Linked DNA regions of Homo sapiens: all the other regions are linked to region 6. The links are contacts of gene promoters, found by promoter capture Hi-C in human tissues and cell types (Jung and others, 2019). All regions are on one chromosome and are shown on one strand. Each heading gives the region's core, a stretch centred on a gene start or on the middle of the fragment in contact. The rest is flanking DNA. Distances are from core to core; before and after follow the strand shown. Region 1 holds the start of PIP5K1C (phosphatidylinositol-4-phosphate 5-kinase type 1 gamma). Region 2 holds the start of PLIN5 (perilipin 5). Region 3 holds the start of ATCAY (ATCAY kinesin light chain interacting caytaxin). Region 4 overlaps TJP3 (tight junction protein 3). Region 5 overlaps CHAF1A (chromatin assembly factor 1 subunit A). Region 6 holds the start of CREB3L3 (cAMP responsive element binding protein 3 like 3).

The links. The method cuts DNA at HindIII sites, captures the fragments that hold promoters and counts their contacts. A contact is called where the count stands out against the background at its distance.
Region 1: the fragment with the promoter of PIP5K1C here is called in contact with the fragment with the promoter of CREB3L3 in region 6 in 2 of the 25 tissues and cell types used here (lymphoblastoid cells and small bowel).
Region 2: the fragment with the promoter of PLIN5 here is called in contact with the fragment with the promoter of CREB3L3 in region 6 in 2 of the 25 tissues and cell types used here (dorsolateral prefrontal cortex and spleen).
Region 3: a contact is called between the fragment with the promoter of ATCAY here and the fragment with the promoter of CREB3L3 in region 6, in 10 of the 25 tissues and cell types used here (adrenal gland, dorsolateral prefrontal cortex, hippocampus and 7 more).
Region 4: a fragment that was not itself captured here is called in contact with the fragment with the promoter of CREB3L3 in region 6 in 2 of the 25 tissues and cell types used here (dorsolateral prefrontal cortex and lymphoblastoid cells).
Region 5: a fragment that was not itself captured here is called in contact with the fragment with the promoter of CREB3L3 in region 6 in 3 of the 25 tissues and cell types used here (aorta, dorsolateral prefrontal cortex and spleen).

The regions. Positions count from the first base shown.
Region 1 is chr19:3,696,974-3,701,763 of GRCh38, forward strand. It overlaps PIP5K1C (phosphatidylinositol-4-phosphate 5-kinase type 1 gamma), which reads right to left and starts at 3,495. Exons shown (of 18, transcript NM_012398.3): 1 at 3,324-3,495. The coding sequence starts at 3,417. RefSeq lists an enhancer at 2,552-3,335 and silencers at 3,034-3,173, 3,254-3,743. The HindIII fragment of the contact is 9,003 bases long and covers 1-4,790 here.
Region 2 is chr19:4,533,974-4,538,555 of GRCh38, forward strand. It overlaps PLIN5 (perilipin 5), which reads right to left and starts at 1,251. Exons shown (of 8, transcript NM_001013706.3): 1 at 1,192-1,251; 2 at 42-122. The coding sequence starts at 101. LRG1 (leucine rich alpha-2-glycoprotein 1) reads right to left here. Exons shown (of 2, transcript NM_052972.3): 2 at 2,429-4,582. The coding sequence ends at 3,967. RefSeq lists an enhancer at 402-957. The HindIII fragment of the contact is 58,476 bases long and covers 1-4,582 here.
Region 3 is chr19:3,877,443-3,882,082 of GRCh38, forward strand. It overlaps ATCAY (ATCAY kinesin light chain interacting caytaxin), which reads left to right and starts at 3,243. Exons shown (of 13, transcript NM_033064.5): 1 at 3,243-3,566. RefSeq lists an enhancer at 2,918-3,448. The HindIII fragment of the contact is 15,458 bases long and covers 1-4,640 here.
Region 4 is chr19:3,746,903-3,750,986 of GRCh38, forward strand. It overlaps TJP3 (tight junction protein 3), which reads left to right. Exons shown (of 21, transcript NM_001267560.2): 19 at 892-1,179; 20 at 3,236-3,282; 21 at 3,680-3,911. The coding sequence ends at 3,782. It overlaps APBA3 (amyloid beta precursor protein binding family A member 3), which reads right to left. Exons shown (of 11, transcript NM_004886.4): 11 at 3,870-4,084. Among named protein-coding and RNA genes, the nearest start is that of APBA3, 13 kb to the right of the region's middle. The HindIII fragment of the contact is 8,254 bases long and covers 1-4,084 here.
Region 5 is chr19:4,414,117-4,418,521 of GRCh38, forward strand. It overlaps CHAF1A (chromatin assembly factor 1 subunit A), which reads left to right. Exons shown (of 15, transcript NM_005483.3): 4 at 3,904-3,960. Among named protein-coding and RNA genes, the nearest start is that of CHAF1A, 14 kb to the left of the region's middle. The HindIII fragment of the contact is 3,051 bases long and covers 560-3,610 here.
Region 6 is chr19:4,150,567-4,155,091 of GRCh38, forward strand. CREB3L3 (cAMP responsive element binding protein 3 like 3) reads left to right here and starts at 3,065. Exons shown (of 10, transcript NM_032607.3): 1 at 3,065-3,208; 2 at 4,333-4,461. The coding sequence starts at 3,182. The HindIII fragment of the contact is 37,156 bases long and covers 1-4,525 here.

The sequences.
Region 1 (4,790 bases), core at 2,245-4,744, 450 kb before region 6:
CCGAGGAGGACTGAGCTGGACGGAGGAGGATCGAGCTGGACCGAGGAGGACCGAGCTGGACAAAGGAGGACTGAGCTGGACCGGGGAGGACCGAGCTGGACCAAGGAGGACCGAGCTGGACCGAGGAGGACCAAGGAGGACCGAGCCAGACGAAGGAGGACTGAGCCGGACGAAGGAGAACCGAGCCGGACAGAGGAGGACCAAGCTGGACTGGGGAGGACTGAGCCGGATGGAGGAGGACTAAGCTGGACCGGGGAGGACCGAGCTGGACCCGGGAGGACCGAGCCAGATGGAGGAGGACCAAGCCGGATAGAGGACCGAGCCGGATGGAGGAGGACTGGGCCGGACGGAGGAGGACCGAGCTGGACCGGGGAGGACCGAGCCAGACAGAGGAGGACTGAGCCAGACGGAGGAGGACTGAGCTGGACCGGGGAGTACTCAGCCAGACGGAGGAGGACCGAGCTGTACGGAGGAGGACCGAGCTGGACCGAGGAGGACCGAGCTGGACCGGGGAGGACCGAGCTGGACCAGGGAGGACCAAGCTGGACCCGGGAGGACCAAGCTGGACCCGGGAGAGGCAGAGGACAGGGAAGGAGTCAGTGGGTTCTGGGCCAGTTCTGAAGGTGAAGCTGCCATCATTTGCTGCCAGATCAGCCGTGGAAGTGGGGCAGGGGCAGGGATGCAGCTGACCTTTCCAGGGCATCACAGAGACAGATCAGCCGTGGGAGTGGGGCAGGGGCAGGGATGGAGCTGACCGTTCTGGGGCATCACAGAGACAGGACAGCCTGGGAGAGGCTCAGACACGCCCAGGCCACAGCTCAGACCAAACTCCACCACAGGCCATCGGCCCACACAGTGGGCACAGCCGCATCCCAAGCCCCGGCCTTCCCGAGACCGCCCCCACGTGCCCCACGGCCACGGCCCATGGAGACGCCATTCAGGCCACGCCTCGGGAGCCAGGAGCCCAGGCAATTAGAGGAACCAAATTCTAAACACCAACGAGACATTGCTTTGCCTCCCATCGGATCAGCCGAAATCGCCAAGGACGATGACACTGGGAGCTGGCAGTGCCGTGGGAAACGGGCAGCCTCCCTCGGCCCCTGTCGGACAAGGCTCCCGCTGTAGCTGAGCTTTCTGGAAGGTGTCGCCATCGCTTCTAACAGTGAGCGGTGACTCCAGAAACCACGGGCATGGGCCTCAGCAGGGGCCTGGAGGCACCGATGGTGGAGAGGCCGGAAAGGGGTGGCCAACCGGCACGACAATCACCAAGCACGAGCGCCAACTCATCCCAGGCTCAGCCCCTAGCACACACGGTCATCACCCCACTTCACAGACGGGACGCTGAAGCCCGGGGAAGTGACGGCCACACAGCACCTGAAGCGCGGAGCTGGGAGGGGGACATCGGCGGGACCAACTCTGGGGCTCCCCCTTAACCACTGCCTGGCGCTCGCCCTCTCTACAAACCGATACCAACATAGGGTGGGGAGACTCCAGATGACCAGAGATAAAAAGCAAGCAGTTCACAGAGTCATAAACGTGTGGCATTTCTCACCAGGGCCGTCCTGCCCCCAGGGGACACTGAACGGTGTCTGGGTCACTTGTGGCTGTCACAACTGGCAGGTGCTCCTGGCATGGAGTGGGCAGAAGCCAGGGGCGTTGCTCAGCACCCCTAATTTCCTGACTCAAAATACCTCTGCCAAGGCACAGAAGCCCCAGTGAGGCATGAAACCATCTCGGTGAAGAACAAGCAGGCCCCTTTATGTGCTCACGTCTCTGTGGCCCAGCCAGGCACAACCTAAACTCACCAGCGCTAACATCAGGAGGGATGGCGTTGGAGGAGTGAGGCAACTCTGAATTTTAAACATTCAGAAGCAGTATATGGCCAGCTGGGGTCAGATTTCTGTGGATTTCAGGGATGGGCAGAGATGCCAGACCCTGACCTTCCAGCCCTCCCCGGCCCCCCACCCCCACCCCCCCACTCCCCCGCTCTCCCACCCCACCACCATGCTCAGTCTGGAGCTGGCAACTTTATCTGTCCCCGGTGCTCCCAGAGCCCCTGATAAGATGAATGGTCGCGGTGTGGTTTTCTTTTGGTCAGCGAGTCCTGGGCTACTTTGTCTCTGACCAGCTGGGGTCAGAGGGCTGACAGCGGAAGTTGGGGGGCCCAAGAAAGGAACCCGGGCTGGGGCCTGGTGCCCTGCCTGGGTTCCTCCACCATGTCTCTTGCTGGCCAGGCCAGGACACCGGCTGCCCGCAAAGAAAGGGGCGAGGCCACTGGCTCTGGGGAAGGAACCGGGTCACCTACCAAGCGGTTCCAGATGGCCGCCGGGAGGGAAGCCACGAGTGTCTTTCAAGGCGGGGGGTGGGGGGGGGACTTGATGACTTCCACACTCTCTCTCTCTCCAGACATCTCCCCAACTCCCAGGCAGCACGCATCGCCCGCCCGCCCGCTTGCCCGCCTGCCAACCAAGGAAGCTTCGGGAGGCCTGGGGGGAGAAGGAGGACGGATGCCCGTGTGGGTGTCTACAGAGACGCTGCTGCTGGCTGCCTGGGAGGAGCAGAGGATTTTGTGAATCCGGAAACTTCCGATTTGGGAGCTTGTGACCTCGACTGAGAAGGAACTGTTCCCTTCCTCTGGGCTCTGCACACCGTCCCCACAGAAGGGAAGGCCCAGCTGCCGCCACCTACCCGGCTGGAGGTCCAGGAAGCAGCTAAAGGGGGCATGAGACAGCCGTGCCCCCCGCCCAGCCCGCAGCCCCACCAGTGTGTCCTGGGGGAAGGCTCGGGGAGAGGAAAAGGGGGCGACAGGGCACCCTGTGTGCACAGCCGGGGCGGTGGAGGCATCTTGAGATGTAACCCTTTTCCTCCCCTCATTTTAGCAGGGAGGTAAACTGAGGCCCAGGAAGGTGAGGAAAGGTCGCGCACCCGGACTCAGGTCTGGGGACTTACAGAAAGGGAGGTGACATCAGGAGGTGGGCACGCACGGCCTCAGAGACCCCCGCCTCCACCCAAGCAGCCGCCACTCACACGACGGGCAGCCCCTGGGAGCGGGTCAGGCAGAACGGGGATCCCCAGCGGCGCCCACGCCGAGTCGCCCCCGGCCCGGGAGCGGTGGGAGGTAGCCCCTCGCAGGCCTCCCGCTTCCCGGCGCGGCTTCAGCCCCGTCCTCCCCGCGGCTCCAGGGGACTGCCCCGCCCCAGGCTCCTGGAACCGGCGGCGCCCCCGCAGCGACCGTGCAGCCCCCGCCCCGGCCCCGCAGCCCCGCGACTCTCGGCGCTCGGACGAGCCCAGCGGGCCGCAGCCCCGGGAGGCCGGGCCGTTACCTGCCGCCGCCCCGCTCTCTGCCGCCCACGCCGCCTCCGAGGGCACGGCCCCCGCCTCAGCGCTCTCCGCCTCGTCCGGTACCTCCAGCTCCATGGCCGCGCGCGGACGGCGGCGGGGGCGCCCGAGGGGGACCCGAGCTGCGACCGCCGCCGCCGAACAACAAGCGCCGCCGGCCAAGGGAGGGCGCGCCGGGCCGGCGCGGGGCGGACGGGGCGGGGCCTGCGTGCGTGCGACGCCGCGGACGGCGCGCGGCCAATCGGGGCTCGGGGGCGGGGCCTGCTTGCGACCCGCAGCCAGGAGCGCCTCGAGTGCCCCCTCGCGCCCAGGGGTGGGAGTACAGAGCCAGGCTCGCCATTCCATCGTATTAGGTCAGTAAGATTGACAGGCACGATACGTATCAATAACATTGCTGTGCACAACACATACCAATAACATGGATCTACACAACACATGACAATAATATGGATCTATACAGCACGTGCCAATAATATGGATGTACACAGCACATGCCAATAACATGGATCTAAACAGCACATGCCAATAACAGGGACCTGCACAGCGCATGACAATAACATGGATCTGGCCGGGCGCGGTGACTCACGCCTATATTCCCGGCACTTTGGGAGGCCGAAGAGGGCGGATCACCTGAGGTCAGGAGTTCAAGACCATCCTGACCAACATGGTGAAATCCTGTCTCTACTAAAAATACAAAAAATAGCTGGGCGTGGTGGCACATGCCTGTAATCGCGGCTACTCGGGAGGCTGAGGCAGGAGAATCGCTGGAACCCAGGAGGGAGAGGTTGCAGTGAGCTGAGATCGCACCATTGCCCTCCAGCCTGGGCCACAGAGTGAGACTCTGTCCCAAAAAAAACCACACATGGACCTACACAGCACATGCCAATAACATGGAGTTACCCAATGCATGCCAATAACATGGATATACACAATACATGCCAATAACACGGATATGCACAATACATGCCAATAACATGGATATACACAATACATGCCAATAACATGAATCTATACTATATCATTGACATGGATCTACATAAAACATACAAATAGCATTGCTATATGCAATACATGCCAATCACATTGCTATACACAATGAATACCAATAACATTGATCTACACAATACATGTAACTAACATTGATACACACACTACATGTCAATAACATTGATATACACACTACATGCCAATAACATGGATATACACACTACATGCCAATAACATTGATATACACACTACATGCCAATAACATTAATGTACACACTACATGTCAATAACATTGATATACACACTACATGTCAATAACATTGATATGCACAAAATATACCAATAACAGTGATATACACAGTACATGTAAATAATATTGATCTACACAGGGCCGGGCGCGGTGGCTCATGCCTGTAATCCCAAGACTTTGGGAGGCCGAGGCGGGCGGATCACGAGGTCAGGAG
Region 2 (4,582 bases), core at 1-2,500, 380 kb after region 6:
AATACCTTCTGTCCCTGCTCCATGGGAGGGGCAGCCCTCACCTGCTGGTCCTGCTCCCACACACTGGATCTGGGGATCTGAGCCGCCTCTTCTTCAGACATCGTGCTGCAAACAGGGTCACCCTGCGGGGCAGGATTGAGTAAGGGGAGCACCTGCCCAGGCATCAGATCCTGTCAAATTGGGCTCTGTGACTTGAGCAACTCTCAAACCTCTTGGGGCCTCAGTTTCTTCATCTGCATAATGGGGCATTCTGTGGAGCTCAGACAATGCATGTCCAGAGCTCTGTACACAGAGGGTGTCCAATAATGAGCCTCTGGCAAGGTAGGGTTGCCGGAGTGACTCGAAGCATGGTCTCTGAGGTGAGAAAGACCTGGGTTCAAATGCTACCATTAATTGCGGTGTTATTTTTATTATTTTTTTAAAGACAGAATCTCTCTCGCCCAGGCTGGAGAGCAGTGGCGCCATCCCAGCTCACTGCAATTTCCGCCTCCCAGGTTCAAGTGATTCTCCTGCTTCAGCCTCCCAGTTAGCTGGGATTACCCACGTGCCACCATGCTCGGCTAATTTTTGTATTTTTAGTAGAAACCGGGTTTCGCCATGTTGCCCAGGCTGGTCTCAAACTCCTGGGCTCAAGTGATCTGCCCACCTCGGCCTCCCAAAGTGCTGGGATTACAGGCATGAGACACTGCACCTGGCCAGCTGTGTGATTTTTGGCAAGCACCTTCACCTCTCTGGGCTGCTTCCTGTTTTGTAAGATGTGGGAGGTCCCTGCTACCCCTGCGGCCCCTGCCTGGGCCCAGAACTGCCCAAGCACCCTAGACGGCTGGAGGTGGTAGCTGCTGGGTCCCAGTCCACTCACAGCTCATTTGACAGACAGGGCAACTGAGGTACGCAGCAGGTCCATGCTGGTCCCAAGGTCACGCAGCCAGCTAGAGTTACAGGGGGGGAGCTCGACCTCGGGCCTCAGACCTGCCGCCTGCGATCCCTCCGGTTGCCACCCCGCGTCCTCTGAGGCCTGGTCCTCGCCCAACTGGGTCCTGAGCTGGGGCCAACCGGGCCAAGGGTCCCAGCCACCTGCTCTGGCCGGTCATACCCGTCCCACGCCGCCGGACCTTCGCCCAACCACCCTATCTGGAGCTCCTCTCCTAAGCCCGGGGGGGCGCTCCCGGACGCCGCCCTCAGGGCACTCACCTGGGCGCGAGCGGCTTCAGACACCAGCTGTCTCCGCCGACCCCAGGCTCGAGTCTCCACACCCCCGCCGGTCCCGCCCGCCCTTCTTATAGCTGCTCGCGCAGTGGGGGCCTCCGGAACTGACCAATGGGGAGAGGCCGTGCGGGGGCGTGCCCAGGGGGCGTGGCTCCAGGCTTCCCTCGCCCTCTCCTTGAGCTGGCCCAGTGCCCTACGGTTGCCATAGTAATTCGGGAGCGCTAGATTCAAAAGATTGAGCTATTATACGTTCCCGGACCAAGTTTGGCCACCTGTCATCCTCACTGCTGTTGCCATAGAGACAGTCCATGCGATCACAGCCCCCATAGCCCTGCTGAGTGACCTTGGCCAACTCGCTGATGACTTTTCTTATTAATTATTATTATTTATCGATTTTTGAGACTGGGTCTTGCTCGGTTGCCCAGGGCTAGAGTGCAGTGGTGTGATCATAGCTCACTGCAGCCTTGCCCTCCCAGGCTGAGGTGATCCTCCCGCCTCAGTCTCCTAAGTAGCTGGGACCACAGGCACACACCACCACCCCCAGCTAACTTTTTAAACTTTTTGTAGAGACGAGATGTCCCTGTGTTGACCAGGCTTGTCTTCAACCCCTGAGCCCCAAGTGATCCTTCCACCTCAGCCTTCCAAATTGCTGGGATTACAGGTGTGAGCCATTGCACCCAGCCTCTTTTTATTTCTTAATCTGCCCCTTAACTAAGCCAGAAGCCAGGCCTTCCCTTTCCCTAGGATCCCCATTTCACAGATGAGCAAGCTGAGGCTCAGAGATCATAAAACACTTGCCCCGCATACCACAGCAAGTGAGGGATCCTATTCCTTTTTTTTCTTTTTTTTTTTTTGAGACAGAGTCTGACTCTGTCGCCCAGGCTGGAGTGCAGTGGCGCGATCTTGACACACTGCAACCTCCGCCCCCTGGGTTCAAGTGATTCTCCTGCCTCGGCCTCCGGAGTAGCTGGGATTACAGGCGCCTGCCACCACACCTAGCTAATTTTTGTATTTTTAGTAGAGACGGGGTGTCACCATATTCGTCAGGCTGGTCTTGGACTCCTGACCTCGTGATTTGCCTGCCTTGGCCTCCCAAAGTACTAGGATTACAGGCATGAGCCACCGTGCCCGGCCAGGGATCCTATTCAAACCCAGCCCTGCTGGACCTCAGAACCCTGCCTTTTCATTGCCTTGCCTGGAATGACCACAGATGTAGGCATGGTCTTTTTATTTTTATTTTTATTTTTGAGACACAGTTTCACTCTGTCGCCCAGCCTGGAGTGCAGTGGCGTGATCTTGGCTCACTGCAACCTCCGCCTCCCAGGTTCAAGTGATTCTCCTGCCTGACCCTCCCAAGTAGCTGGTATTACAGGCACGTGCCACTGTGCCTGGCTAATTTTTGTATTTTTAGTAGAGACAGGGTTTTGCCATGTTGGCCAGTCTGGTCTCGAACTCCTGACCTCCGGTGATCTGCCTGCCTCAGCCTCCCAAAGTGTTTGGATTACAGGCATGAGCCACGGCGCCAGGCTGCATGGTCATTTTTTAGGGAGCTGGGAAAACTGGACATGCCCCCAAGCCCCAGGGTCTTCCAAATCCGATTGCAGCCCCCACATGGCCAATGCTGTATCAGCAGGTGGGCCCGGGACCCTGCTCATCCCTTCAGCCCCATCCTGCCCCTGCAACCTTGCCCGGGGGCAGGTGCCCCCTTCGATGATCTCAGGTCAGCATGACAAATCGTTTGGAGACCTGGGCAATCTGGTTTAACTTAAACCTTCTCCTAGGACACAAGCCCTGGCAGAAATCCACTGGTAAAATGACACCCGGGCAACAGTCAAGGTTTTATTTCCAGTTAGGTCCCAGGATGGGGGAAGGGAGAGGAGAAGTCACAGGCCATTGATCCCAACTGTCATCCCCTAGGGAGACCATATCCCACACCCCAGGGCCTGGGCCATGCCTCTTTTCCTCCTTCACCCTGGAGTCCTGGGAAGTTGATTTGAGAAGATGCTAGGAACACAATGAAAGCCAATTCATCCGATCCAGTTTTCAAGGGTTATTTATTAAACCCCTTGGTTCTGACCCCAAGCTAAGTGGGACTCAGCATCAGACCCTGCACTCAGAGAGCCCCCTGACTTGGGGAAGACAGAGTCAGAGAAAGGCAGCCCCAGTGTGGCCAGGGCTCAGCTGGAAGGAAGGACAAGGGGCTGGGAGAACCCAGAGTTCAAGAGATCTGGGAAACAGGGAACGGCATTCCAGACGGAGGGCACACCTTGGGCATGGGTAAGGAAAGCCCATCGTGTGTTCTAGGAAGCATGGATGGATGAAACGGGGTCCCAGCCGCTATGGACAGCCCCGAGTTTCACCTGTAAAAGGCAGGATTATTTGTTTTTAATTTTAATTTTAATTTTTTTGAGACAGTCTTGCTCTGTCGCCCAGGCTAGAGTGCAGTGGCACGATCTTGGCTCACCGCAAGCTCCGCCTCCCAAGTTCACGCCATTCTCCTGCCTCAGCCTCCCGAGTTGCTGGGACTACAGGTGCCCACCACCACGCCTGGCTAATTTTTTATATTTTTAGTAGAGACAGGGTTTCACCATGTTAGCCAAGATGGTCTCGATCTCCTGACCTCGTGATCCGCCCACCTGGGCCTCCCAAAGTGCTGGGATTACAGGCGTGAGCCCCCGCACCCGGCCAAAGGCAGGATTATTTGTTAAGCGGGTTGCAGTGTTCTACCAGACCCCCCACCCTCAACCCAAGCCCCTGGTCTCACTGGGACTTGGCCACTGCCAGGAGCGTCTGGCCCTTCACGGCTTCAGGCCCAGCACAGCGCGTGTCATTCTGGGAAAACATCTTGTCTTTTTGGGCCTGAAGCCAACGATAGAGGTCGCTCAGGTTCTGGTCACAGATCCAGGGGTTGCCGGAGATGTCGAAGCCATCCCGCATGTCCCAGTTTGGCTGCCCTAGGGATGCCCAGAGCCCCTCGGGCACGCTGGCCAGTGAGTTATTGGAGAGGTCCAGCATGTCCAGCTGCCGCAGGCCCTGGAAGGCACCGGCTGCCACCCTGGCCAGCTTGTTGCCGTTCAGGAAGAGGTAGCGCAGGTCCGGCTGCGGCAAGAGGAGATCTTTTCCCAGTACTTGCAATTTGTTGCCTTCTAGATGTAGCCGTTCTAATTGCAGCGGACCCCTCAGGAGGTCAGGTGGCAAGGTCTCCAACTGGTTCTCCCCAAGGTCAAGGGTGCGCAGGAGGGTGAAGTTGGCCAGCAGCCCGGGGGGCAGTTTCCGGAGGCGGTTCCCAGACAGGTCCAGATGCCCCAGAGCTTTCAGGCCGTGTAGCCACGAGACCTCCAGGACCTCCAGCTGGTTTTCTTTCAATACCAGGGTG
Region 3 (4,640 bases), core at 1,993-4,492, 270 kb before region 6:
CTGGGCTCACTGCAACCTCCACCTCCCGGGTTCAAGCGATTCTCCTGCCTCAGTCTCCCGAGTAGCTGGAATTACAGGCGCCCACCGCCACGTCTGACCAATTTTTGTATTTTTAGTAGAGGCGGGGTTTCACCATGTTGTCCAGGCTGGTCTCAAACCCCCAACCTCAAGTTATCTGCCCGCCTCAGCCTCCCAAAGTGCTGAGATTACAGGTGTGAGCGGCCTCCCAAAGTGCTGGGATTACATGCCTGGCCTCAACTGAATGGTCATTCTAAGAGAATTCCCAATCCTGCACACAAAAACAGCATAAATTAACTGAATTAGGGAAGCCACGCCTCTGCCAGCCGTGAGCTGGGAAGAAGCAGATACCTCAGAGGCAGGGAGCGCAGGCGGGTGATGATGAGAGGGGCCACAGCCGCAGCCCCACGCAGGGGAGCCCACCACTAACCCTGCACCCCCACCCCTGCACAAAAGAGCTGGTGGGCACTAGCCATATCGCCTTGCAACCTTCCTCGGATGCAGAATCCACTCCTTCAGGCATCCTCTTCCTCCAATGCTCTGAAGGCCTGGGGAGCCTGAGAGATGCCCGCTGCACCCAGGCAGGGCTCGCCTTTGTTTGCCAGTAATGGGAATTACTCATATCTTGTGCCCAGTGCCCAGCACAGGGACTCATCGAATCCACCCCTCAGTTAACACAAGTGTCTCTTACAAGACCTCCATTTTCTCCAGCCAGGAGATGGGAAGTCCCAACCTTGTGCTAAAGTCTCTGGGGCCTCTGCTTCCCCATCAGGGCTTTCTGCCTCTGCTGTGGGCAGGTTACCTTTATGCCTCGGAAGAGTGCAGACCTCCATGCAGCGGGTGAGGCTGCCAGCCTAGGTGGGGTGTCATTGAATGTCATGAAGGGAGCCAGCCTTCATGCACTCTGCCTGCGTCTCCTGAACAGCTTTGGACCAGGAGTTGCTACCTTGTGCGGAGAACGTGTGGTGCATAAGAACAACCGAGCCTCTGCTCTTCGAAAATGTATATTCTGGCCAGGTGCGGTGGCTCACGCCTGTAATCCCAACACTTTGGGAGGCCAAGGTGGGCAGGTTGCCTGAGGTCAGGAGTTTAAGACCAGCCTGGCCAACATGGTGAAACCCCGTTTCTACCAAAAATAAAAAAAATAGCTGGGTGTGGTGGTGCATGCCTGTAGTCCCAGATGCTTGGGAGGCTGAGGCATGAGAATCGCTTGAACCTGAGAGGAGGAGGAGGTTGCGGTGAGCTGAGATCACACCACTGCACTCCAGCCTGGGAAACAGAGCAAGTCTCTGTCTCAAAACAAAACAAAACAAAACAAAACCCAGTATATTCTAATAAGGAGGAGCAGAGAATCAACAACAACAACAAAAAAGTGTAAATAATTTCAATTAATAGTAAGTGCTGTGGGTCAGGCACGGTGGCTCACACCTATAATCCCAACATTTTTCGAGGCTGAGATGAGAGGCTCACTTGAGCCCAAGAATTCAAGACCAGCCTGGGCAATAGAGAGATACCCTATTTCTACAAAAATTACACAGATTAGCAGGGCGTGGTGGTAGGAGCCTGTAGTCTCAACCACTGGAGAGAAAGAGGTGTAAGGATCACCTGAGCCCGGGAGTTCAAGACTGCAGCGAGCTGTGATTGTGCCATTGCACTCCAGCCTGGATGACAGGGAAAACTCCTGTTTCTTAAAAAAATAAGTAAATAAAATAAACATTAAAAACAGCAATAGCAAGAAATACATATAGGCCGAGCACAGTGATTCGCACCTCTAATCCCAGCACTTTGGGAGGCCAAGGTGGGCGGATCACCTGAAGTCAGGAGTTCGAGACCAGCCTGGCCAACATGTTGAAACCCCGCCTCTACTAAAAATACAAAAAAAAAATTAGCCAGGTGTGGTGGTGTGTGCCTGTAATCCCAGCTACTTGGGAGGCTGAGGGAGGAGAACCACTTGAACCTGGGAGTCGGAGGTTGCAGTGAGCCAAGATCGCACCACTGTACTCCAGCCTGGCAACAGAGCGAGACTCCACCTAAAAAAAAAAAAAAAAGAAAGAAAGAAAGAAAGAAAGAAAGAAAGAAAGAAAGAAAGAAAGAAAGAAAGAAAGAGAAAGAAACACATAGGGAGCTTTTCTTGTGCCCCAGCACTGTGTTTAGTGCTGTCTATGCATTATCTCATAATGTGGAAAAGCCATAGCGGCTCCATTTCACAGATGAGAAAAACTGAGGCCCGCAGGTGAGATCACTCATGCCCACTGGTCTGCCAGCTGGGGAGTGGCTGGGCTAGAGTTCAAACCCACTTCCAGTCCGACTGCACGGCCTGCACTCTCCACCCTACCATCTTCCACAGTCTCCTTGAATTCCTCCAGGGCGAGGCCACGCCAGCGCACAACTGCAGGGGGCGCCGTTCCCACAGCAGCCCTGCAAAGTGAGTGTGCCTGAGAAACTTCCGCCTCCCCTGCACCCAGCCCTGTTTAGGGCACGAGGCTGAATCAATGGTAAGTGACCATCTAATGGACCCACAACACGGTGACCTGGGGACAGTCATTTCTTTCTTTTTTTTTTTTTTTCTTTGAGACAGAGTCTCCCTCTGCCGCCCAGGCTGCAGTGCAGTGGCGCCATCTCGGCTCACTGCAACCTCCGCCTCCCAGGTTCAAGCGATTCTCCTGCCTCAGCCTCCCGAGTAGCTGGGATTACAGGCGCACGCCACCACGCCTGGCTAATTTTTGTATTTTCAGTAGAAACGGGGTTTCACCATGTTGGCCAGGCTGGTATCGAACTCCTGACTTCAGGTGATCCTCCCTCCTCGGCCTCCGAAAGTGCTGGGATTACAGGCGTGAGCCATGGCATCCGACCTGGGGACAGTCATTTCTTTGCCTGCACAGACTTTTTGGGGGATGCCACCCCTCACCCCTGCTCCCTTTGCAAGGAGAAGTGCCAAGAAGACCTTTCCCAACTCCCCCACCCCCCATTCTCTAAGGAATGAGGCCATCTTGCCATTTATTTATTTATTTGTCCGTTGTTTTGTTTTTAAATCTCTGATGCGCCATCAGAAAATTATTTCTGCCTCTGCCCCTGGCGTGGCTTTCGGAGATGCTTGTCTGTCAGCCAATGGGGAGGATCGGATTCTGGCAGGGGGCTGTGCTTTTCCGTCAGGCCGCCACCCCCCACCCCCTCCTCCCTGCACACAAAAGCAGCATAAATTAACCGTCTTCGGGAAGCCGAGCCTCTGCCAGCCCTGAGCTGGGAAGAAGCAGCTACCTCGGAGGCAGGGCGCGCAGGCGGGCGGCGATGAGAGGGGGCGCAGCCGCAGCCCCGCGCTGGGGAGCCCACCGCTAACCCTGCACCCCACCCACCCCTGCACAAAAGAGCTGGCGGGCGCTGGCCACGTCGCCCTGGGTGACCTTCCTCGGATGCAGAATCCGCCCCTGCGAGCATCCTCTTCCTCCTAGGCTCTGAAGGCCCGGGGAGCGTGAGCGATGCCCAGCTGCACCCGGGCAGGGCTCGCCTTTGTTTGCCAGTAAGGAGGAGAGGCTGTCTCAGCTGCAGAGGTGAGTGCGCGCATCTCCCCTTCTCCCAGGATAAACCGTCTCCCTGGAAGGTTTATCCGGCAGCCTTTGCCGCCTCTAAATCCCTTTCCAGCAGATGGGGCGGGTGGGAGCAGAGAGCCACGGTCTTGTGACTCCGTGAAGGCCCTCACATCCCTGTTCCCGGTACCAGGGAAAACCGTTCCCTGAGCTGCGCCCAGCAACACAGTTTACCTTCCGCGCGCACCGTTCCCCTCTAAGTGCACCATTTTCAGGACACGCTGAGAGCTCGGGCGGATGAAAACCTCAGCTTCTCTCTGGGACGCTGAAATAGACCCATCCTAGCCCTATGTATTTCCTATTTATAACGCTAGGAAGGCCACCAGCCGACGATTTCGGGAAAAAAAAAAAAAAAAAATCTAAGTGTGTCGATAAAGGCTGTCCTGTGGGGTGGGGAGGAAGGGGGTGGTTTATGGTTTAAGACACAGATGCCTCCTCCTTATTGGAACTCGTATGTGATTTGTTAATAATCAGACATCAGGGCTCAAATGAGCGCTTCACTCCCGTTCCTTGATGTCACTGTCTTCTTTTGGCCGTCCCCAAATGCGAAGCCAGGATCTGAGTGCAGGAGTGTCCGGGGCCCACTGAGGACCCACCCCACCCCATCCTTAGAAGACTGTGGAGTCAACGCCTGTGGCTGCAGCTGGCAGGGGGTGGGGGTCGGGGGCGGGGCTGGTGGGAGTGTTCCTGGGGGCTGAGGTCACACCCAGCTCAGTATAAGGAAGGGAGAGGCGAAGACCCCTTCCTCCGGAGAGCAAATGCGTTTCTACTGCCGAGGAGAACTTACCCTCGCGGGAAGGGCCTGGCTGGCTGCTGCCACCGCCCCCCCCCCGACCCCATAGCATCCAGGAGGGATTTTTTTTTTTTCCATGCTGCGTGTTACTGTCCCTCCTCCAAGCATGAATGACGACATTGAGGACAGAGAATCGAGTGAGAAACGCTCACCCTGTACGGGGGAGGGTCTAGTTTTAGCCGTCCCCTCCCCCCACTTCCTCATCTGGCTGAGGCTGCCTCTGGGTCCTTCCTTGCTAAGCCACA
Region 4 (4,084 bases), core at 1-2,500, 410 kb before region 6:
GCAGGGAGGCCCCACAGACGCTGTGCAGGCCCAGCTGGGGTTTGGGGCCTCTGTCGGGAGTTAGGGCTTGGTCAGGGATCAGGACTGTGGCCAGAGTCAAGATGGGACCTGAGACAAGGGTGTTGGACTGGAACTTGGGTGAGATGAGATTGGAGGAGCTGTTTTTTGTTGTTTGATTTGAGATGGAGTCTCATGTCACCCAGGCTGGAGTACAGTGGTGTGATCTCAGCTTGCTGCAACCTCCGCCTCCCGGGTTCAAGTGATTCTCCTGCCTCAGCCTCCCGAGTAGCTGGGACTACAGGCGAGCGCTACCAGGCCCAGCTAATTTTTGTATTTTTAGCAGAGACGAGGTTTCACCATGTTGGCCAGGCTGGGCTCAAACTCCTGACCTCAGGCGATCCACCTGCCTCAGCTTCCCAAAGTGCTGGGATTACAGGCCTGAGCCACCGCGCCCAGCCTGGAGGAGCTGTTTTGAGAATGGAGTCAGTGGGGCACGGGAGCTCACGCCCATGGTCCCAGCTACTCAGGAGGCTGAGGCAGGAGAATCACTTGAACCCGGGAGGCAGAGGTTGCAGTGAGCAGAGATTGCGCCACAGCACTCCAGCCTGGCAACAGAGACTCCTTCTCATAAAAAAGAGAGAGAGAATGGAGTCTTCTCTTGGGGCTGGAGTCAAGGTTTGGGGCTCAGCTTGGATTTGGGGGCTGAGCCTCTCAGGTGAAGGGTCAATGGATACAACCCATCCTGGAGTCAACAGAGAAGCCTCCACTGAGGCTCCAGGCTCCAGGCTCCTCGCCTTGATTTGGGACCAGAGTTTGAAGGTGGGGGGATGTCGTGGGTGGCAGCTGGGGTCCTGGCCAGGGCCAGCCGCAGCATCCACACCCACCCCACAGCTGGATGGCTCCTTGGAGGACAACCTAGACCTCCCTCACCACGGCCTGGCCGACAGCTCCGCTGACCTCAGCTGCGACAGCCGCGTTAACAGCGACTACGAGACGGACGGCGAGGGCGGCGCGTACACGGATGGCGAGGGCTACACAGACGGCGAGGGGGGGCCCTACACGGATGTGGATGATGAGCCCCCGGCTCCAGCCCTGGCCCGGTCCTCGGAGCCCGTGCAGGCAGATGAGTCCCAGAGCCCGAGGGATCGTGGGAGAATCTCGGCTCATCAGGGGGCCCAGGTGCGTCGGACATGGGGGGCAGGCCTGGGAAGGGTCTCCGGAGGGGATGCCAGCACAGAGCAGACACACACTGGGAGCCTGTTTTCTACCAGGACGTCAACAAACACGGCTTCCCTGGTCAGACTGGTTTCTGGGACTCAGACCTGGGGTAGCTGAGACCCACGTGGCACTGAGTAACTTGCAGCATTTTTTTTTTTTTTTTTTTTTTGAGACGCAGTCTTGCTCTGTCGCCTAGGCTGGAGTGCAATGGCGCAATCTTGGCTCACTGCAACCTCCACCTCCCAGGTTCAAGCGATTCTCCTGCCTCAGCCTCCTGAGTAGTTGGGATTACAGGCACCTGCCACCATGCCCGGCTAATTTTTGTATTTTTAGTAGAGACGGGGTTTCACCATTGGTCAGGCTGGTCTTGAACTCCTGACCTTGTAATCCACCCGCCTTGGCCTCCCAAAGTGCTGGGATTACAGGCATGAGCCACTGCACCCAGGCTTTTTTTTTTTTTTTTTTGAGATGGAGTTTCGCTTTTGTTGCCCAGGCTGGAGTGCGATGGCGTGATCTCGGCTCACCACAACCTCCGCCTCCCAGGTTCAAACGATTCTCCTGTCTCAGCCTCCTGAGTAGCTAGGATTACAGGCGTGCACCACCATGCCTGGCTGATTTTGTATTTTTAGTACAGACAGGGTTTCTCCATGTTGGTCAGGCTGGTCTGGAACTCCAGCCTCGGCCTCCCAAAGTGCTGGGATTACAGGTGTGAGCCACTGCACCCGGCCTTTTTTTTTTTTTTTTTTTTTTTTTTTTGAGTTAGAGTCTCGCTCTGTCACCCAGGCTGGAGTGCAGTGGCACGATCTGGGCTCACTGCAACCTCGGCCTCCTGTGTTCAAGCGTTTCTCCTCCCTCAGACTCCCAGGTAGCTGGGATTACAGGTGAGCACCACCATGCCCAGCTAATTTTTTTTTTTTTTTAAGGTATTCTTAGTAGAGACAGGGTTTCACCACGCTGGCCAGGCTGGTCTCCGATTCCTGACCTCAGGTGATCCACGTCGGCCTCTCAGAGTGTTGGGATTAGAGGCGTGAGCCACCGCACCTGGCCTCCAGCCAACATTTTAACCTCTCTGTGCACCTGTTTCCTCATCTAGGACACAGGGTGGATGGTATCAGACTTGGTGGCACAGGGCGGTGGTGAGCACTCAATGTGCTCAGCCCAAGTTTTGGCACATAGTAGTTGCGTGTCTTTTTGAACTTGACCTATCTAATTTATATATTTTATTTTTTAAATTTTAGAGATAGGGTCTTGCCCTGCTGCCCAGGCTGGAGTGCAGTAGTACAATCATAGTTCGTTGCGGCCTCCAACTCCTGAGCTAAAGGGAGCCTCTCATCTCAGCCTCCGGAGTAGCTGGGACCACAGGCGCGCACCACCACCCACACCCAGCTAATTTTTTTTCATTTTTTGCAGAGATGTGGTCTTGCTATGTTGCCCAGGCTGGTCTCTAACTCCTGGGCTCAAGTGATCCTCCTGCCTTGGCATCTCAAAGTGCTGGGAGTACAGGCGTGAACCACAGCGCCCAGCTGTAGTTGGGTGTTTAACAGTAACAAATGTGTATGTAGCTCTTAGTGTATATGCCTCAGCATCTTCTTCCACACCCTCTCTAGGTCAATGTAAAAATCTATGAATCAATGACATCTCTGATTAGAGTGATTTTCCTGGGGTTGTGCAGTACCCAACCTGCTCAACTGTCCATGGCAGGCTGCATACGGAGCAGCCACTGTACTAAGTCCTTTACGTACATGAACTCATGGCTGTGGCCCTGTGAGGACTTGCACAGATGAGAAACCCAATTCCCCTTTTGCTGACAGGCTAGGAGGTCTCAGCTAAGGCCTTCCCCTATCCCAGCCTCAGTTTTCTCATTTAGATTTGGGGATGACCTGCAGACTTGTCACGGGGTTAGCAAGTGGGCAGCATGGCCCGGGCCAAGGTGGGGGATGGGATGGAGGTGGTTATTGATCTCGACTCACCATGCTCTGGGGGGAGTTTTGAAGCTCCTCTCTCCCTCTCCTCCAAGGTGGACAGCCGCCACCCCCAGGGACAGTGGCGACAGGACAGCATGCGGTAAGAACCCCATATTCCAGATTGGGGCCCTCAACCCTTCCCTTGGGACTCAGACTCTGCGGACTCAGATCTAGATCCAAGCTATGCCTTCATGGTGCCCCTAGCCTAGTGGGGAAGACAGAGCCTGCCAGAGCCTCTCTAAGCCCCATATAATCAGGGCCAAGGGAGTAGGAATCCACTTCCTGGGAGGCCTAGGAAGGCTTCTTGAAGGGCAGGATATTGCAGCTGGGGCTTTGAGGGATGCATAGGAGTTTGTTAACAAGGCCCTACCCATGAATGCCCAGATGTGCTTATCTCTGCCCACACCCACTGTGCCTAGCACAGCCAGCCTCAGTTTATGGTGAGAAAGCTCACACCCTTCCCACCCACAGCATCTATTCTATTTCCTGATCCCCAGAACCTATGAACGGGAAGCCCTGAAGAAAAAGTTTATGCGAGTACATGATGCGGAGTCCTCCGATGAAGACGGCTATGACTGGGGTCCGGCCACTGACCTGTGACCTCTCGAAGGCTGCCAGCTGGTCCGTCCTCCTTCTCCCTCCCTGGGGCTGGGACTCAGTTTCCCATACAGAACCCACAACCTTACCTCCCTCCGCCTGGTCTTTAATAAACAGAGTATTTTCACAGCACCGGCTTCTAGTGGCTTCCAGGAAGGACAAGGTCCTCGGTCCCGTAGACCCTGATCCGAGACTTTGCCAAATGCATAAGCTTTTACTGTTTTTATATTAGGAAATCATACAGGACCAAGAACCGCTGGGGTCCTGGCCAGCCAGGGCAGGCCCAGGATGGGGCTCCGGGGCCA
Region 5 (4,405 bases), core at 835-3,334, 260 kb after region 6:
TGGTCTAGGTGCAGTGGCTCAAGCCTGTAACCCCAGCACTTTGGGAAGCCGAGGTGGGAGGATTGCTTGAGCTTAGGAGTTCGAAACCAGCTTGACCAACATGGTGAAACTCCGTCTGTACAAAAAATACAAAAAATAGCGGGGCATGGGGGTGCACACCTGTAGTCCCAGCTCCTTGGGAGGCTGAGGTGGAAGGATCACTTGAGCCAAGGAGGCAGAGGTTGCGGTGAGTCATGATTGCACCACTGTGCTCCAGCCTGGGCAACAGCCAGACCGTCTCAAAAAAAAAAAAAAACAAAAAGGAAAAAGAATGGAAACCTTGAAGCCCTCTGTTCTCCCAGGAGGTTGCCATTATTATCATCATCATCACCTTGTGTTTTTCTGTGTCCTGTATATCCAGAGAGATCTCTAGGAAACACCCAGTATCATTTTGTTTCCTTGTGTATGACATATACTGTAAATATCTGTCTTTGTTACTCAAGGGTGTCTTAGATGTTTTTTATATTGGGATGGAAAGATGGAGCTCTTTTTAACAGCTGCGTGATATCCCATGGTGTGGACATGCTGTAGGTTACAGAGCTGTTTTCTCAGTTCTGCTGTTTCTGTGCTTGGCTTTCACAAAATGATTGTTCCCTTGAGCTTCCTTCTACAAGTGGCCTTGGGCTGTTAAGGAGAATGAGGTCTTGGTAGCTCAAGGCAATGCGTGCGTTCTTATTTTCCCAGCTTGCACTCTCTCATGCTTGGGCCAATTGGAGGTTTTCTCTTTTCCCCCCTGCCTCCGCTCCCCTGCTGTCAGGTTTTAGCGGCTTATCTGGTCTGGGCTTAGAAATTAGATACCCTTTAGTATAAAATCAGAGTCCATAGGCTCTGAGAGGATTATCTGAGAAAGGGTGCAGGAATTTTCATGCCCACACATAGTGAGCTCTGTCGCGACTCCTTGGGATTGTCGGTTTTTGTGTTTTGGCTTCCTTCTGGGATCCTGGATCACGTTTTTGGCAGTTGAGGGTGCTGTCTGACCGGGCTCCAGCTGGGTAGAATGTGGGAGTGTTGCATAGAATTTTGAGAGTGAGATCTATAAACACTTGGGTCAAATTTCAAGAAGATAAAGTTCTGTCAGACTTCAAGGTCCATCTGAGGGTTTGGCAAAGCAAAAAAGATACCAGTTTTAAATTAAGCAGTAATTGCTCTGTTTTGGTTGTTGGATATTACTGAGCGGGCTCTTGCCAGTCACATCAAGTCTGTTATCTCTGGACTCACAGCAGAGGGGGGGCATTGTAAGAGGCAGGAGATTCTGCAGCTGAGCTTCAGGCATGGGCAAGACTAAGGAACTGAATTCCCCGCCACCCCAAGACCACATTCCGTATTATAATCTCTGAACACAAAGGGCAGCCCCGGAGAGCTGCGGCTCCCATATTCTGCAGTTAAATCCCTCAGCGTGGGGGAGAGGCACACAGCCTTGGCAGGCAGAGTAGATGCTGGAGAGACAGATGCTTTTTCTGCAGCATTTGGTGAGGCTGCCTCGGGCTGGCATTTCTGTTGCCACATTCTCAGCAAAGACTGAACACCCTGGCCTGATCTCGGTGGTGAAAGAGCTCCTGCCAACACGGGCAGCCTTCTCACAACGGCTCGGCCTTTCCCTAAAGAAAGGTTTAGTCCAGAAAGGACTCAGTGGGACCCAGGTGGAAAGGCTGTCTTGAGCTCATTCATCTGAAGCTTTTATTCTGTGAGAGGTCCTAGTCAGGGGTTCAGCTTTCCCAGATAAAGAAATCACTGTTGGCCGGGCGCGGTGGCTCACGCCTTTAATCCCAGCACTTTGGGAGGCCGAGGCGGGCGGATCACGAGGTCAGGAGATCGAGACCATCCTGGCTAACATGGTGAAACCCCATCTCTACTAAAAATACAAAAAAATTACCCAGGCATGGTGGTGGGCACCTATAGTCCCAGCTACTGGGCAGACTGAGGCAGGAGAATCGCTTGAACCCGGGAGGCGGAGCTTGCAGTGATCCGAGATGGCGCCACTGCACTCCAGCCTGGGCGACAGAGCGAGACTCCGTCTCAAAAAAAAAAAGAAATCACTTACATAATTTTGTTGACCCCTCAGACCATTGCCAGGAAAATGGGCCTTTGGTTTTTCAGTCAACTTCAGTCTTACACTGCAAGTCTGCAATGAACCCGGAGAACTATTTCTTCCCACTCTTAAGCGTCTCTTCCCATTGCTCTTCACTTCTACTAGTTTGGTTTTCAGGATTCCCTGCCCCGGTGGGAGATAGCTTAGGCCAAAGTCCAGACTCCCTGTTCGTCTTCCTTCCTGGGACCATTTAGGTGGATGGTGAGTCACACCATGGATCCTATTGGTAATTCCTAGTAGCTCATGCTCAGTTTGAAGGTAGGTGATAGAAAATATTGTGCCCTAGAAGGTAGAAGTCCTAGAAAACCCCAGCAAGTTTCCCTTTTGTCTTAAGCTTTCACTCCACATTCTAAAAAGCAGAGTTGGCTGGGCGCGGTGGCTCACGCCTGAATTCCTAGCACTTTGGGAGGCGAGGCGGGTGGATCACCTGAGGTCAGGAGTTCGAGACCAGCCTGGCCAACATGATGAAACCCCTATCTCCACTAAAAATACAAAAATTAGCCAGGTGTGGTGGCACACGCCTATAATCCCAGCTACTCAAGAAGCTGAGGCAGGAGAATCGCTTGAACTTGGGAGGTAGAGGTTGCAGTGAGCCGAGATCGTGGCACTCGCTGCACTCCAGCCTCTGTGACAGGAGTAAGACTCCATCTCAAAAATAACATTAAAATAAAAAGCAGAGTTGAGCTAGACAGAATGTAAATTAGTGGTGCACAGGAAACCAGCCTGGAGACATGTTTTATTTGATTAATTTAGTATCTTTTTATTTTTTTTTTAGACAGTCTCACTCTGTCACCCAGGTTGGACAGCTCAGTGCAGCCTCAACCTCCCGGGCTCCTCCCACCCCAGACTCCTGGGTAGCTAGGACTACAGATGTGCACCACAACACCCGACTAACTAAAAGCTTTTTTTAGAGACAGGGTCTTGCTTTATTGCCCAGGCTGGTCTTGAACTCCTGGGCTCAAGTGATCCTCCCGCCTTGACCTCCCAAAGTGCTGGGATTACAGGCATGAGCCACTGTGCCCGTCTGTGTCCATTTTTAAACACCTAAAAAAATTCATATGAAATTCCTAATATCAGCTTCTCTTGGAGAAATTGGAAGGACCAGCAAATAGGGATCTATATTCCTGTAAGAACTCCATCTCCTTTGGACAGGCAGGTCCTCTCTCCTTTGCTACAAATCCATCCTCTCCCTGTCGCCCAGGCCAGCTGTCGCTTTTTTTTTTTTTTTTTTTTTAAGACAGAGTCTCACCCTGTTGCCCAGGCAGGAGTATGGTGGCGCAATCTCGGCTCACTGCAACCTCCTTCTCCTGGGTTCAAGCGATTCTTCTGCCTCAGCCTCCTGAGTAGGTGGGATTACAGGCACCTGCCACCACGCTCGGCTAATTTTTGTATTTTTAGTAGAGATGGGGTTTTGCCACGTTGGCCAGGCTGGTCTCGAACTCCTGACCTCAGGTGATCTGTCTGCCTCGGCCTCCCAAAGTGCTGGAATTACAGGCGTTAGCCACCGCGCCCAGCCTTGTCTGTTGCCTTTATTTCTGAGCTTGCCTTGTTTTTCTTGTGCTTGGTGTCCTTCACTCATTTCTTTATCTGCCTCCGTAGTCTCTCTTGTTATCTAATCCCAGATACACACATGTATGCACACTTACTGGAGTTTGTGACCCTATTATGACATTTTGGTTCTGTTGGTGGAAAAACTGATCACCTGGAAAGGTTTCTCTTTTTCTCGAAGCAATTGAAATAACCCGTGTTTAAAGATAAACGTCTTCTGTTTTCAGATAACTAAGAAATTCGTCAAAGGCTCTACAGAGAAGAACAAGCTCAGACTGCAAAGAGTAAGACATTTTCCCTGAAATAGAAAATTAACCTGCTGTGCTTTTTGCATTAAATAGTAAGCAAAGCCCTTTGAAGTTCCTTTGGTCTAGTTTTTACATTTTCCCCAGCCTTCTCTGACCATCATTTTGATTCCTGCTTCATTTTAAGTACTTGGACTTCATGGTTTGTGGATTGTGTCATTTTTTGGCTTGCTGAGTGAGTCCTAAGGTTTTGTGTGTGGCCTTTTCTAAGCTTTTATCAATAGTGCTACCACTGTCTTAATGGTTCAGTATCCCATTGTAGCTTCAAATTACCTTCCAAAAACCCAGTCCATTTCCTTGTAGTCCTGTCTCTTTTTTTTTTTTTTTTTTTTTTTTGAGACAGAGTCTCGCTCTGCCACCCAGGCTGGGGTGCAGTGGTGCGATCTCGGCTCACTGCAAGCTCCACCTCCCAGGTTCACGCCAT
Region 6 (4,525 bases), core at 1,815-4,314:
CCGTCCGGAAGGTTGAGGCTGCAGTGAGTTTTTTTTTTTTTTTTTGAGATGGAGTCTCGCTCTGTCACCCAGGTTGGAGAACAGTGGCACCGATCTCGGCTCACTGCAAGCTCCGCCTCCCAGGTTCACGCCATTCTCCTGCCTCAGCCTCCCGAGTAGCTGGGACTACAGGCGCCCACCGCCACGCCCGGCTAATTTTTTTTTTCGTATCTTTAATGGAGACAGGGTTTCACCGTGTTAGCCAGGATGGTCTCAATCTCCTGACCTCGTGATCCACCCACCTCGGCCTCCCAAAGTGCTGGGATTCCAGGCATGAGCCACTGTGCCCGGCCTGCTGCAATGAGTTTTGATCACAGCACTGCACTCCAGTCTGCCCTAGTGGAGGGCAAGTGCAGTAATGTGAGTTAGTGTTGGATAAAAGAACCATATCGTGTGTGGCATATGGTAGCCCCTTATTGAATTTTGATTTCATGAATACATATGAGTGATCCATTGAAAAATATAAACCAGGCCGGGCGTGGTGGCTCATGCCTGTAATCCCAGCACTTTGTGAGGCCAAGGCGGGTGAATCACTTGAATTCAGGAGTTCAAGACCAGCCTGGCCAACATGGTGAAACCCCATCTCCACCAAAAATACAAAAATTAGCTGGGTGTGGTGGTGGGAGCCTGTAATGCCAGCTACTCAGGAGGCTGAGGCAGGAGAATCGCCTGAACCTGGGAAGTGGAGGTTGCAGTGAGCTGAGATTGTGCTACTGCACTCCAGCCTGGGCGACAGAGCGAGACTCTGTCTTGAGAAAGAAAGAAAGAAAGAGAGAAAGAAAGATAGAGAGAGAAAAGAGAAAAAAAGAGAGAGGAAAGAAGGAAGGAAGGAGGGAGGGAGGGAGGGAGAGAAGGAAGGAAGGAAGGAAGGAAAGGAAGGAAGGAAGGGGAAGGGAACCAGGATGTGAATTTTTTTAGAGCAAGGAGGGCACATAAATTACCCCTCTCAACCTAGCACATGGCACAGTGTCCAGCAAACAGAAAGCTTGATTTAGTCTCCTATTTGCTAAACTTCCAACAGTGCCCTGCTGTTTAGCACAAACCAAACTCCTTGCCACAACACACAGGGCTTTGCACGACCTGCCCCGTCCCCTCCCTGCCTTCCCCTCCTCCCTGCCTTCCCCTCCTCCCTGTCTTCCTCTCCTGCCTGTCTTCCTCTCCTCACTCTGCTCCAGCCACAGGGGTCTCATTGCTGTTCCTCCAATGCGCTAGGCACGGACCTGCCTCAGGGCCTTTGCACAAACTGTGCCTCTGCCTGGGACACCTTTCCCCAGACCTTCCCAGGGCCAGTTCCATCTCATCCTTCAGGACTGCACTGAACATGTCATTTTTTTTTTTTTTGAGACAGAGTCTCACTGTCGCCCAGGTTGGAGTGCAGTGGTGTGATCTCAGCTCACTGCAACCTCCGCCTCCTGGGTTCAAGTGATTCTCCTGCTTCGGCCTCCCGAGTACTGGTATTGCAGGCATGTGCTACCACACCCATCTAATTTTTATATTTTTAGTACAGATGGGGTTTCACCATGTTGGCCAGGTTGGTCTCAAACTCTTGACCTCAGGTGATCCACCCACCTCGGCCTCCCAAAGTGCTGGCATTACAGATGTGAGCCACCACGCTTGGTCTAATATGTCATCTGCTAAAGGGGGACTTTGCCTGGGCACAGTGGCTCATGCCTGTAAATCCAGCACTTTGGGAGGCTGAAGCAGGTGGATCATTTGAGCCCAGGAGTTTGAGACCATACTGGCCAACACAGTAAGACCCCATCTCTATAAAAAAAAAAAAACAAAATTAGCCAGGTGTGGTGGTGCACGCCTGCAGTCCTAGCTACTTGGGAGGCTGAGACGGGAGGATCACTTGAACCCAGGAGTTGGAGGCTGCAGTGAGCTATGATCCTGCCACTGCACTCCAGCCTGGGCAATAGAGTGAGACCCTGTCCTCCACCAACACCAAAAAAAAAAACAAAAAAACAAAACAGGGCTCCTCTCTCTTGGTAGGGGGTGGAGGGGAGGTCAGAGACACCTCTCAGCCACCCGGGCTGATTCACAAATATCGAACATTCACTAAAATGTCAATACAGTGACCTAGAGCCAGAGGGGAAGAGGGAGGGTACAAGAGGAGAGTTCCAGGCAGAGGGGCGAGCAGGTGAGTAGGTGCAAAGGCCCTAAGCAGGAACCAGTTTGGCTCCATAAATATTTGTTGACTCAATGAACGATAGAAGATTCTAGAGAGAATTGATTGCACAGAATCACCCATGGGGACTCAGAGGCGGAGTCCAAGCTGGTTTCGGAGGGGGCTGGGGGCCGGAGGTTGGCAGGTGGGGTGAAGGATGGGAGCCGCTAGCTGCTGGCAGGAAAACTGGCTTCAGTGAAGATCTGGTCTGGTCCTCTTGGTTTGTTTCTGTCCAGGGAGTGGACAGGACCCATGTAAGGGCCCTGGGCTATCCCAGAACCCATCTGGGAATTCTGAAGAGAAAAAGTCCTGTAACTGGCCGGGTGCGGTGGCTCACGCCTGTAATCCCCGCACTTTGGGAGACTGAGGGGCCGATCACGAGGTCAGGAGTTCGAGACCAGCCTGGAAAACATGATGAAACCTCGTCTCTACTAAAAATACAAAAGTTAGCCGGGCATGGTGATGGGGACCTGTAGTCCCAGCTACTCGGGAGGCTGAGGCAGGAGAATCACTTGAACCCAAGAGGCAGAGGTTGCAGTGAGCCGAAATGAGATGGCACCACTGCACTCCAGCTTGGGCCACAGAGCGAGACTCCGTCTCAAAAAAGAAAGAAAAAAAGAAAAAGTCCTCATAAGTAGGGCAGAGGTCACGGCAGAGTGGAGGTACCCCAGACTTCGACCTTTGCTCACTGAGGGCTGGAAAACCACAAAACACCCAGATAACGGTCTTCCCTCCCCTGCTCCTGCCTGCCCCAGTGTCACTGGCCCTCAACCCTGTCTCTCCACCCTGTCCACCAATCAGCACCTGGAGGTGGGCTGGGAGCTGCCTGTGACCGCTTCAGCATCTTTTGGGAGTGGTGACAGAGCCACAGAGGGCTGTGAGCTTGCCCGGCCCCAGGTAACGCTGGCGGTGGGTGGGCCTCCAGCTTGGAGCAGAGACCCCCCGAGGCATCTGCAGACAGAACTGGATGGACCCATGAATACGGATTTAGCTGCTGGAAAGGTGAGCCCTACTAGGTCCCCAGGGAGAGCGGGAGTCTAGGCTGGGAAAGCCTACCCAAGCTGCCAGAGCTGGAAGGACCCCATCTCCACCCCTATTGTACAGATGGGAAGACTGAGGCCCAGAGAAAGGATGCAATGAGCAAAACTGTGTGCCTTTGCCCCGGGGCTGCCCTTGTCTTTCTTCCAGGTCCCCCTGCCTCCTAGGAGCGGGCACTTGGGGAGGCTGTGAAGGCCTGAGAGGCAAGCGGCATCTCTAGCTAGGGCCTCTCTCCAGCACTTTTTATTTTATTTTATTTTATTTTTATTTTTATTTTTTGAGATGGAGTCTCCCTCTGTCACCCAGGCTAGAGTGCAATGGCACGATCTCAGCTCACTGCAACTTCCACCTCCTGGGTTCAAGAGATCTTCCTGCCTCAGCCTCCCAAGTAGTTGGGATTACAGGTGTGCACCACCACGCCCGGCTAATTTTTGTACTTTTCCTAGAGACAGGGTTTCACCATGTTGGCTAGGCTGGTCTCAAACTCCTGACTTCAGGTGAGCTGCCCGCCTCGGCTTCCCAGAGTGCTGGGATTACAGATGTGAGCCACCGTGCCTGCCATACTTTTTTGTTTTTTGAAACAAGGTCTTGCTCTGTGACCCAGGGTGGAGTGCAGTGGGGTGGCCATAGCTCACTGCAGCCTCAACCTCCTGGGTTCAAGGGATCCTCCTACCTCAGCCTCCCCAGTAGCTGGGACGACAAGTGTGTGCCACCGCAGCCAGCTAATTTTTTTAAATTATTTGCAGTAGGGATAGGGGTCTCTATGTTGCGCAGGCTGGTCTTGAACTCCTGGGCTCAAGTGATCCTCCTGCCCCGGCCTCCCAAAGTGCTGAGATTACAGGCATGAGCCACCACATCCAGCCTCTCCAGCACTTTAAGAGAAATTGGCTCTCACACTGTGGAATTCTCTCTATCAGCCTCAAAGTCCAGATTTGGAAAGGGAGTCTCAGCGAGGGGCAGCAGCTGGCCCAACCCGGAGGCAGAGCGGCAACTGAACTCTAGCCGGAAAGAGCCAGGGTTATGTGCACATGGGAGGTGGGGAGGACAGGGGCTGTATGTGACCCTCACATCTGTTCCTCGCGCCCCAGATGGCTTCTGCTGCCTGCTCCATGGACCCCATCGACAGCTTTGAGCTCCTGGATCTCCTGTTTGACCGGCAGGACGGCATCCTGAGACACGTGGAGCTGGGCGAGGGCTGGGGTCACGTCAAGGACCAGGTGAGGAGTCCACTGCAGTTGCCCCGGGACCACAGAGCTCCAGGCGGGCCAACTGAGGCCCCAC